Regions from separate parts of the Homo sapiens genome. Here region 2 is linked to region 1. Evidence: promoter capture Hi-C in 16 types of primary human blood cells and fetal thymus (Javierre and others, 2016). All regions are on one chromosome and are shown on one strand. Each heading gives the region's core, a stretch centred on a gene start or on the middle of the fragment in contact. The rest is flanking DNA. Distances are from core to core; before and after follow the strand shown.

The links. The method cuts DNA at HindIII sites, captures the fragments that hold promoters and counts their contacts. A CHiCAGO score of 5 or more calls a contact.
Region 2: a fragment that was not itself captured here is called in contact with the fragment with the promoter of E2F7 in region 1 in 1 of 17 cell types (endothelial precursors); the score reaches 5.8 in endothelial precursors.

The regions. Positions count from the first base shown.
Region 1 is chr12:77,062,339-77,067,806 of GRCh38, forward strand. E2F7 (E2F transcription factor 7) reads right to left here and starts at 3,231. Exons shown (of 13, transcript NM_203394.3): 1 at 3,007-3,231; 2 at 2,205-2,297. The coding sequence starts at 2,297. RefSeq lists enhancers at 540-599, 630-779, 3,179-3,885, 3,621-3,850 and silencers at 3,071-3,120, 3,141-3,570. The HindIII fragment of the contact is 4,360 bases long and covers 1-3,969 here.
Region 2 is chr12:77,933,505-77,938,972 of GRCh38, forward strand. All of the region lies in intron 1 of NAV3 (neuron navigator 3), which reads left to right. Among named protein-coding and RNA genes, the nearest start is that of NAV3, 110 kb to the left of the region's middle. The HindIII fragment of the contact is 816 bases long and covers 2,947-3,762 here.

The DNA.
Region 1 (5,468 bases), core at 1,981-4,480:
AGCTAATAAATGGCAAAGTAGGAAATCAAACCCAGGACCTCTTGGCTCTTAAACCCCATGTTTTCATTATCCCTAGAAAGCATCCTTCCTTTACTTCATAGCAGCATGAAAAAGACAGACAGAAGCCCCTCCTAGTAACTCTGTGGAAGCACCCTGTTCTCATCTCTTGCCTTCTATTTGAGTTGACATAATCCCTGCTCATAAATGCTATTTCAAACATTGTCACTGCTTTCCCAATCTCTTTAAGTCACTTGAGTTTTTTTTCCCCACACACATTAGAATGTGAAAGCTCAACTGGACACAGTAGCACTTGCTGATGCTAGAGGAGAAGGGTCTTTGTTGAAGGTACTTGATAAAAGTCATTGACCCAGAGGAAGAGAAGTAAAGCACTGACTTAGACGTTATATAAATGTATGGATGTGTATTTTTTCAAGGCTGAACCATCCAAATTGGAAAGGAAAACAAAGTTTTGCTCTAAAACTCTCAAAGCCAAAACTCTGAATATATACTTTAAGTCTGGGCATTTCCACCCTCATGACTTAGATAATTAAAAAAAAAAAAAAAAGGCCACTTTAAATAATCTTCACTTTATCTGTGGTTTCACTTTCAGTGGCCAACTGCGGTCCAAAAATATCACATGGAAAATTCCAGAAATAAACAATTCATGAGTTTTAGATTGTGTGCAGTTCTGTGTAATGAAATCTCACGTCATCCTGCTCCGTCCTGCTTCGGATGTGACTCACCCCTTTGTCCAGCGTATTTGCACGGTAGATACTACCTGCTCGAGCAGCCACTGTGTTTTCAGGCTGGCTGTCACGGTATTGCAGTGCTCATGTTCGAGTAACTCTTATTTGACTTCATAATGGCTCCAAAGCACAAGAGTAGTGATGCTGGCAATTTGGATATGCCAAAGGGAAGCCATAAAGTGCTTCTTTTAAGTGAAAAGGTGAACGTTCTTGACTTAAGGAAAGAAAATCGTACGCCAAGGTTGCTAAGATCTACTGTAAGAATTAGTCTCCTATCTGTGAAATTGTAAAGAATGAAAGAGAAATTCATGCTAGTTTTGCTGTCATACCCCAAACTGCAAAAGTTATAGCCATGGTACATAAGTACTTAGTTAAGATGGAAAAGGCACTAAATTTGGGGGTGGAAAACATAAACAGAATAAACAGAAATGTGTTCCAACTAATGGCAATCTGGTTCACTATTATCCACAGTTTCAGGTACTCACTGCAGGTCTTGGAACACATTCCCTGTGGATAAGGGGAACTACTGTATTTCTTTACCTAATAAAAATAAATCAAAATGCCGGACAAAAAAAAAATCCCTAGATGGGGGAGCATACAATTTCGCATCTATCCTAAATTAGCAATTATCAAGTATTCTTCAAAGGCTCATATGAGCCTGGGTTGCTTTGCAACCAAGGAGTTTCACTGTTGATGCTAAGCCTAAAAATAAGACCAGGAGCTCGGAGAAGTTCAATGCCCAAGTTGCTACTCACAGATTTATATTCAAAGTTTCTAAAACTTGGTTTGTTATTTCTATTTGCCTGTGCCTAAAAATGCTCAGATAGTTTAGACATTGTTATGGCCAGTTTACTTTGTAATGTTCTTGAAAACAACATCTTGGTCTTACAAATCACAAGGGGTGCAAAATGTAAGGGAATGGCTCAGTGCAAAACTAGCAACAGTATGGTAAAATATTCAGAATATACTGATGAGTTCAGCCACTTTATCTCCCTATATAGTAGGCACAGGTCTACTCTTGGGTGAATGGAACAGTCTCTGGGAGCTAGTTCATTGGTATGAAGACATTTCACAGCACTTTAATAATCCAGCATTTATGCCTGCAAAGGTCTATTTTCCTGGGAACTGAGGCTTAGCATTCCTACAGAGCACTAGCTACACCACCCTTGACAACTGTATTATAAACTTTGATTGCTGTAGCCAGCATATTTTTGACTTATATAAATTGGTTACAACATTACATGTAACCTTGCCTATTTTTCCCACTATATCTGAGAGTAGAATTCCAACAATAATGGTTTGGATGGCTCTATTTTTAAAAAAGAATGTTTCTATAATGTTTATCAATATTAATTATTATGCTTAAATACAAATACAAATGGCATGTTGGAACACTTAATTGAATTCAACATCACCATCCTTAACATATTAGAAACTAAGGTGTTTATGTTTGCTTACCTTTTGTGCATTTTCCCCATCTTCAACTGCAAAATCTAGTCTGGGCTGCCTGGGGCTGATCAGGTCTTTTAGTGTTAAACAATTTACCTCCATCTGTAATGCACAATTACACTAGAAAATGATTTTGCAATTAGGTATTTTTTCCTCAAACAAAAATATCTACATATGTGTTACTTGTTTGTCAATATGAAATTCCCCCTTCTCTAAGCACATCCTGGGCATTTCCAGGAGTTGTAGCCACCCTCAACTTTCTAAAACTCACGCGAACAAACTCAAACACCTAAAGTGTGCTTAGTAATACTGAAAATCTGGGAAGAAAAAAATCTACAAAAATAGTAACTCCTTATGAAAAGCTAGATGGCAAAATAAAGTTACCAAGTCGGAAGGGTGTTGGGCAAATCTGTCAGAAAAGTACAGGGTCTCCCAGGTCAGTTAATTTTGGCGCAAAGAACTGAGAGGAATTCGGCTTTGAGGGGTTTTGAATCGGGGGAAGGAAACCCGATCGCTAGACCAAACCCACTCAGCGCTGAGCGCAGCCCCTTCCCAGGCCTCCAAGCAGATCCCCCAAATAAACTTCTCCAATGAAAGCTCCAAGTTGTGGGGAAGGGCAAATCCCCTCTACTGCCGGGCCGGAGTGAGAGCTGCACCCGGCACACCCTCTGCGCACCGGGTTCCCCGGCAGAAACACCTCGAGCCCTCGCCAGCCGGGGGACGTGAGGAGTGGCAGGCTGGCAGCCGGGGCGGGAGTGGGCCCTGTATCCCAATTCCCGCCTCCCCACTGGCGCTGGGGCCGCACGCTTACCCCTGCTTTCCTAAGGAGGCTTCCTGCCTCTGCAGGGACCTCCACGGACCCAAGCCGATGAGGGAAGGTGGTGCGGCGATCAGCAGCCGGGCGGCGGCATCGGGAAGGGAGAGCGAGGCGCGCAGATCCCCGCGCCGAGTGCCCTGGGCTGGCGGGGACCCCGCGGCGTCCGGGCAGCGCCAGCGCTCAGACCGGCCGAGCGCAACTCCAGCCTGGATCGTAGTCCCCGCTAAAACACCTCCTCTGGCGCCTTGAGACCGAATTTGAGAATCCACCAATCAGCGGCGGCCGGCGGGGCGGCCCCGGCCAATCGTGCGGCGGCACGGCCCGGGCTCACCGCCCCTCGGAGTCTTGGCGCTCCGAGCCGCGCGTTTTGCCCTCACCCGCCCAATTGTTGCCGCCTCGGCCCCCTCCCCCTTCCGGGTACCTGGAAACCTCGGGCCCGGGAGCCAATTCCTGCTGGGGACGCGGGCCCCGGCGGCCGCGGGAAGCCAAGGTGGGGGCGGCGCGGGGCGGCGCGGGGCGGCGGGAGAAGGAAGAGGAGGAGGAGGGCTCTTTTGTTATGCATAGAAGACCCGCGCACGTCCCCGCGGCTTGCCGCGCCCGGGGACCCCGGGCACAGCCAGAGGACAGGAAAGCAGATGGGGTTTGGAAGAACGATCTACACCCTCTGGATGCTGCTGCCGCCATCCCCGCCCGCCCTCAGCAACCTGTGCGGAAGCGGAGTTGTCCAGACTTGCCGGGGCAAACTTCTTAACATCGCACGCTGGTGTGACACATGAACCATGGTTACCGCTCTGCTGCGAGCAGATGGCACGCCAGTTAGCCCTGGAGACAAGACTGGAAGCCAAACCAGAAGTTTTTCTAACTTTTTTTTGTTTGTTTGTTTTGTGTGTGTGGCAAATCCGGAAATGTTTTTTGGTGTTCCCTTTTCGGCAAATTGCAAATAATTAGGAGGGAAAAAGCTTTATATAAAAAAGTAGTTCTTTGCAATAGGGACTAGCATTCTGGGAGACAGTCTAGAAAATTTCCTCAACACCACTGATCTGTATTAAATGTTTCACTTCTTTCATCCTACAGTTTCTTGTTTAAAATATGAATGTTGGTAGAGATGGACTTTTTACAAAACAGACTTTATTGTTTAGAAGTTTTCAATTTACAGAAAAATTGAGATAGTACCAAGAATTCCCATATATTCAGCACCCAATTTCACCCACTATTAACATTTTGTGTTAGTATAGAATATTTTTTGAAATTAATGATCTAATATTGGTACATTCTTCTGAGCTCAAGTCATTACTTTATTCAGATTTACTTAATTTTTTCCTAATGGCCCTTTTTTCTGTTCAGGATACCACATTACCTTTAGTTCCTATGTCTCTAGGCTCCTCTTGGCTATGACAGTTTCTCATACTTTCCTCATTTTTGATACCTGGACATTTTTGAGTAGTATTGGTCAAGTATTTTGTAAGATATCCCTCAACTGAAATGTGAGACAGCCTTCTTAAAGCATCAGACATTCTTAAATGTACAGACATGTCCCTACCCCCCATCTACTTTACAGCAAAGGTATCATTTTCCTTTCTATACCAAGACTCCATTCTTCACCACTTACCCTCCAAATATTTTTATTTTATTTTATTTTTGGAGACGGAGTCTTGCACTGTCACCCAGGCTAGAGTGTAGTGGCCCAATCTCGGCTCACTGAAACCTCCACCTCCTGGGTTCAAGCGATTCTCTGCCCCAGCCTCCCGAGTAGCTGGGACTACAGCCGTGCGCCACCACGCCCAGCTAATTTTTGTATTTTTAGTAGAGATGGGGTTTTGCTGTGTTGGCCAGGTTGGTCTCGAACTCCTAACCTCAGGTGATCTGCCTGCCTGCCTTGGCCTCCCAAAGTGCTGGGATTACAGGTGTGAGACACCGTGCCCGGCCTCAAATACATATATTTTAAATGAACTCTCAGCAGAATTCAGAATGCTCAATCAAGTCCTTCACTTCGTACTCTAGATTGCTGGTAAATACGGCCTAAAAAAAAAAAAATCACTGCTAGGTCATACATTGAAAAGAGAAAAGTATGCAAAACATTAAACAAAAGAAAATAGTAATAAAAATCTGACATTTTTTATAGGAATAACATTTTGAACTGAAATCTCTTTTGTAGGTAGAAACCTAATGAGAAGTTTAAACAATAAAAAATTGCAACTTATTAAATTTTGCACATATGTGGAAGCAGAAGTTTAGATAAGGAAATACTTTTCCCAACAGTATTCATTTTCTATGGCTGTTGTAACAAATTACAACTGGCTTATAAGGACAGAGATTTAGTCTCTCACAGTTCTGGAAAGTTAAGGTATTCCCAGGGCCACACTCCCTCTGGGGCTCTTGTCCTTTTCCTCTTCCAGTTTCTGGTGGCTGTTAACAGTCCTTGACACGTGGCAGCCTCACTCCAATTTCTACCTCCA
Region 2 (5,468 bases), core at 2,105-4,604, 870 kb after region 1:
TCATTAATATTCACTTTTAAATCAAACTCCAAAGTTGAGATTTTTGAAAAACTTCATACAGTGTGAGCTTTCATTTTAATGTGAATATTGAGGTGAACTATCTGTACAGACTGAGGTGAACTAGCTAGATGGTGAATGTATTACATATATTGTGACAATATGATGTTACCCAAAACTTTTAATGGATTCGTTTCATAATTATACCACATGAGCTATTGAGATTTCTAGAAGGCCTACAAGAGTCATGAGATTGGACTCATTCACAGATCTTTTGGTCATATCAGTTCTGTAACAACAACTGCAGATCCAGTCTGTGATCAACTTTTCAAAACATCTAAAAATAGTATGTATTGTGTCTTAATCCCACACTGTGATTTTGCAACCTTCTTTGTCCAATGTTGCCTACCATTTTTGAATTTTTGAGTCTTAAAACTGTGGTGTACAAAATTATATCTTTGAAAAAATATATAACTTCACCTTTTAAGCCTCTTTCTCTGTATAGTAGGAGAAAATGTATTTATCTCAGTTCAAAGTAACATAATCACTTTCAGTTTAAAACTCAGTGTTTGAGGGCCAGGCTCATTCAGTTCCAGATTCTTCCTTTTCTTTCTGCAGTGATGGGCTGGGGAGGGTTGTTGATTGTGGTTCCTTATTATCATGGCACCAGGGGTGACACAGCTTGTTCATTGCCATTGCTACCCACCAAGGCTGCTGTCTGATGAGTGCCCGAAGGTAGGATTCCTGTCATACATAACTTGACTTATTTTAACCTATCCTCACATCTTCTGTGCCCTTTTTGCTTTTCTGTGCCAGCTCTATACATCCTTCCTGTCCTGATTTCAAGTGCTCTCTAGGATCACTTCTTTCTTCCAGAAAATTCCATATGGCTCTTGGGAAATTATAAAAAAAAAGTATGCTTTCCTATACTGTTGTGGTCAATGTTGTCCTTTGTGATTCCATTCTCAGGTCCAAATGCTACTTTGAAACTCAGTCCAGAGAGGTAACCTCTTAAATCTGTTCTAGGGCTCCTTTTCCTTCCAATTCTCTTCCCTATACTAGTTTTTCTTTTTGTGGGAAAAACACTTACTTCACTGATCACCTTTCCCTAAGGTATGATTTCTGGTTGCACTTTATATGCTTAGTCTTTTGCTGCTTTTTAAGATGTAGAAGTCCAGTTATTATCATAGAAACCCTTGGTCTTCAACACAATTCCTGTTATGTCTTAGAAGAACCCATTTAACTTTACAAAGCCAGTAATTTGAACATACCAGGGAGCAGTGCTTATAGAAATGTAATGCTACTGCTTGAATGTTGAAGGAAAACAATAATGTTTTAAATAAGTACAGGGTTAAAATTAGCTCAGCTAATATTTTTAAATCCTCTGATTATATTCATAATATCTTCTAATCAGGTTACAGATTAGTGTGTTTTTATTCAAACAGACTTTTAACTTCAATGAAGAGGCAGTCTTTCCCCTATCACTTCTCCCTACTTCTTCGATTATTTAGGATTCCTTAAAAATAAGTTACTTTATCCCATTGAAACACATATACCTCTATGTAGTGTATGGAATAACAAAAATAGTTATAATCATTTTTATATAACTGAGTGGTAGGTTACTTATAAAATACTAACCAAATGCTAAAATAAATAATTTTTAAAAATGTAGGAGCAGCTTGCTGTGACAGACAAAGATAGTATGTAATACTGTCAGTAGTAAAAAAAAATCACAAATGTTTAGGACTTCAAGGAAAATCAGAGTAGATCTTTTTCTGATGTTGTTTCTTCATAGCAGGTTCACTTCTCAAAAGAAATATGGTATCATATATGTTGCCTTCTATTTCATCCTCATATTTATAGTGAATAATGAGCACTGTAAGAGAAATATCATAGAGGCAAATGATGAAGCTACAAGGTCATTACAACTTCCTGCAATTTTCCTTAATTAGTTAGGTAAACTATATTTGGATGAATATATATGATTTAAGAGTTTAACAATAATAATGGTTTACAATATTTCTCATGGTTAATGGAAATGTATTTCATATTAAAGCAGTGAGCTACTAATAACAATATTTAACATAGTGAAAGTCCATATTCCAAAGTAGAAATTCATTAAATCCTCACAATAATTCCATTGGTTGAGGTATTAGTCTGTTTTCACACTGCTATAAAGACATCCCTGAGACTGGGTAACTTGTAAGGAAAAGAGGTTTAATAGACTCACAGTTCTGCAGGCTCCAAAGGTAGCATGGCTGGGGAGGCCTCAGGAAACTTACAGTCATGGTGGAAGGTGAAGGAGAAGCAAGATCATCTTACGTGGTGGGAGCCAGAGGAAGAGAGAGAGCCAAGGGGGATGTGCTACGCACTTTCAGAAAAACCAGATCTCATGAGAACTCTATCAGAACAGCAAGGGAAGAAGTCTGCCCCCATGATTCAGTCACCTCCCACCAGGCCCCTCCTCCAATACTGGGAATTACAATTCAACATGAGATTTGGGTGGGGACACAGAGCTAAACCGTATCAGTAGGTTATAATATTATTGCCATTTTACAGATGAGAATACTGGGGAATTTAGAGAAAAGAAATGTTCAATCAAAGTCTGCACAAATATTAAGTGGCAGAGCAGACATTCCAACAATGTGAATTGTTCCTCAAAGAATACATGCTATTGCATAATAGGCCCCAAAATTCATACTGATAAATGTAAAATATACCATGATACCTTTGATTTTTATCACTTTTAATTATGGTTAATGAATGATTATGCATGCAATTGTACTAGAATTTCTAAGTAGCCCTCTTGTAAACGCAATCTCAGTAATTCTTCTGAATTCCTTGAGATAAAATTATTAGATGGGATGATATTTATATTCATCACGTTGAAGTTCATCAAAACAGTCGAAGAAGACTGGCTTCAGATTTCCAGAGATAAATCGTATTGGAAGCTTTAGCCAGAACATTCATGATTAAAATCTTCAATGACCCTTTTACAAAAATTACCAAACACTGAATTATGATTAGTTTGATATTGTTCCCAATTATACCAATTTCTTCACTAAAAAAACTATAATTAATTCATAGCATAAGCCTGCAAAATACATTACTGCACATTTTGTAACTCATTCAGCTGAAACTAAAATGTTAAATACTGTGATTATTATTTTTGTGATAATGAACTGAGGGCAATTTTGGAGTTCAAATCCAATTTCAGGACCTGATTTCACCATCCTGTTGTATTTATTTAAAGATCACATTCTAATGACAGTTGACAAGGTTGTTTGTATTCTCTCTCATCACGGCATTACAGTACATTTATTGATGAGTTTTAAATACATTTTTATACCATGTGTCCTTTGCTCGAAGTCTCCTTAAAGACACAACTCATTTTTCCACCTTTGTATTCAACTTACACATATACAATTTTGAAAGAGAGAAGTATGTTTGTATATAATATTTTAAAATATATTTACATGTTACTTTGTAATTTTTGAAATATTTCACCATCTAGATTATAATATCCTTTTGGAAGGCACTGGTTTTCCCTCTCTTGTCATTTCCTTGGAGGGTCTCAAGTATCTTTTAAGTATGGAAGACACAGCTGTTTATTAGAAGGAACAAATAAAGTGTACTACAATTATTTTTAAATTTGCATTAAATTTCTTTATATAGCCATTGCTCTCACTGATTGCAGCTGAAGTTAGAAATACGGCCTGAGCAAAGTTTCAGATATTAGAGATGCTGGACATATCAAAGCCCTTAAGCTTGGGATTCCTCTGGAAGAAATTCTGGATCAAACAAAAAATGATTTGTGAGCTAAAACACAGGTATTACCAACAAGGTATCTTGAAGCCAACTAGCTGGCCTCCCATTTGTTTTCTCACCTAAGTCCCAGGATGAATTTGGATAAAGGCTAAGGAACTGTTGACATGCATTTGGAGAATGAAAGTATTCTTATTTTCACTTTCCATTCATATCATTTTGTTTTTTATTTAAACAAATGTTTTTGTATAATTAATGTTATCATAAAACAAAACCAACGAAATACAGTTTGATGGAAGTGGTGCCACAATAGAGACATTACAGGTCTGAATGAGAATATGACAGCCTTAATCTGTTATTTAGATTTCCCTGAGTTCAGATGGCAGACAGATTCACAACACCTGTGAAGTGGAAGGCAGGCAGAATTAGTGATAGGAGTAGTGTCAGAAGCAATTACTACAATTTCTTTAGTCTTCTGATGCCAGCCTTCTCAATTTTCTTAACATTTGTGAAATTATAACTTTAACAAGTATTTGTTGGAAAGCTATCACAGCAAAATAAAACTAGATGCCATGTGATGATAATAATAGCAAGCATGTTTTTTCATGACTAGCTTTGTGACAGATGCTTTACAAGTGCTATCTTATTTAGTCCTGGCACAATCCTATAATGTAAGTATTATTTTTCTCCTTGTTTTACAACAAGACTTTTTTTTACAAGAGGAATCTGAAGGTTAAGTAACTTGTCCAGGGTTCCACTGGTAGTAAGTGGTCTCAAGTCAGATCTGTCTGACTCCAGAACTCATTCTCCTCACCCTTGTGAATCCTTTTTCAACCCATGGCCCCAGTCTTTGCCTATGGACAGATCGGCACAACTCAAGTCTGACTTAACCTGAAGTTTCTACTAGAAGGCCAAAACAATTCTATCATTTAAATGAAGTGTTAAGAAGGGGAGTGTGCTCAATGTTTTAAATTCTAAACAGTATAAAATCCTTCCAAAAAATGTATGATCATACAAATATAATCAAATCTTAACTGAGAAAAATTATTACCAAATAAAAGCATCCACCTAAAAATCATGTATTTGTGTGCTAATTCAGGAGACAGTTATGCAAGTAATTTTTCTTACCCTTCAATATCTTCAACATAGAGATCATGGATATTAATAAAAGGAGATGCAATTTTGCTCTCACATATATTTTTCTTATGCAATGGGATGCTTCCAGTTGTTTACATCTTTCAAGAAACTTAATCACCACCAGATATGTACTAGTCTTATGATGCCAGTAGGACTACTTTGTATTTTCTAATAGAAAGGAACACTTTTTCTTCTGTGTTGTAATCTTGTGATATTTAGACCCAAGATTCATTCAAAACACTTAGCAGCCCCATTTCTAGGTTTTTGACATATAACAATACTAGCATATGAGTTCAGGAAGGTACATATGTCAGGCTGTCTCTTGCAACTTTAGATATAATAGAAACACATTTAAACAAGTCAAATATCTATCAACTGGGGGATTGATATATATAATGCAATATTAAAAATAGATGAACATACATGAAATGGCTCTTAGAAAAGCTGTTAAAATATTGTTACTTATAAATTTGAAACTGCAAAATAATATGTAAAATTTGAGCCAAATTTGGTTTAAAATGTGATCTCGTGTGTGTGTGTGTGTGTGTGTGTGTGTGTGTTCTGTGGCA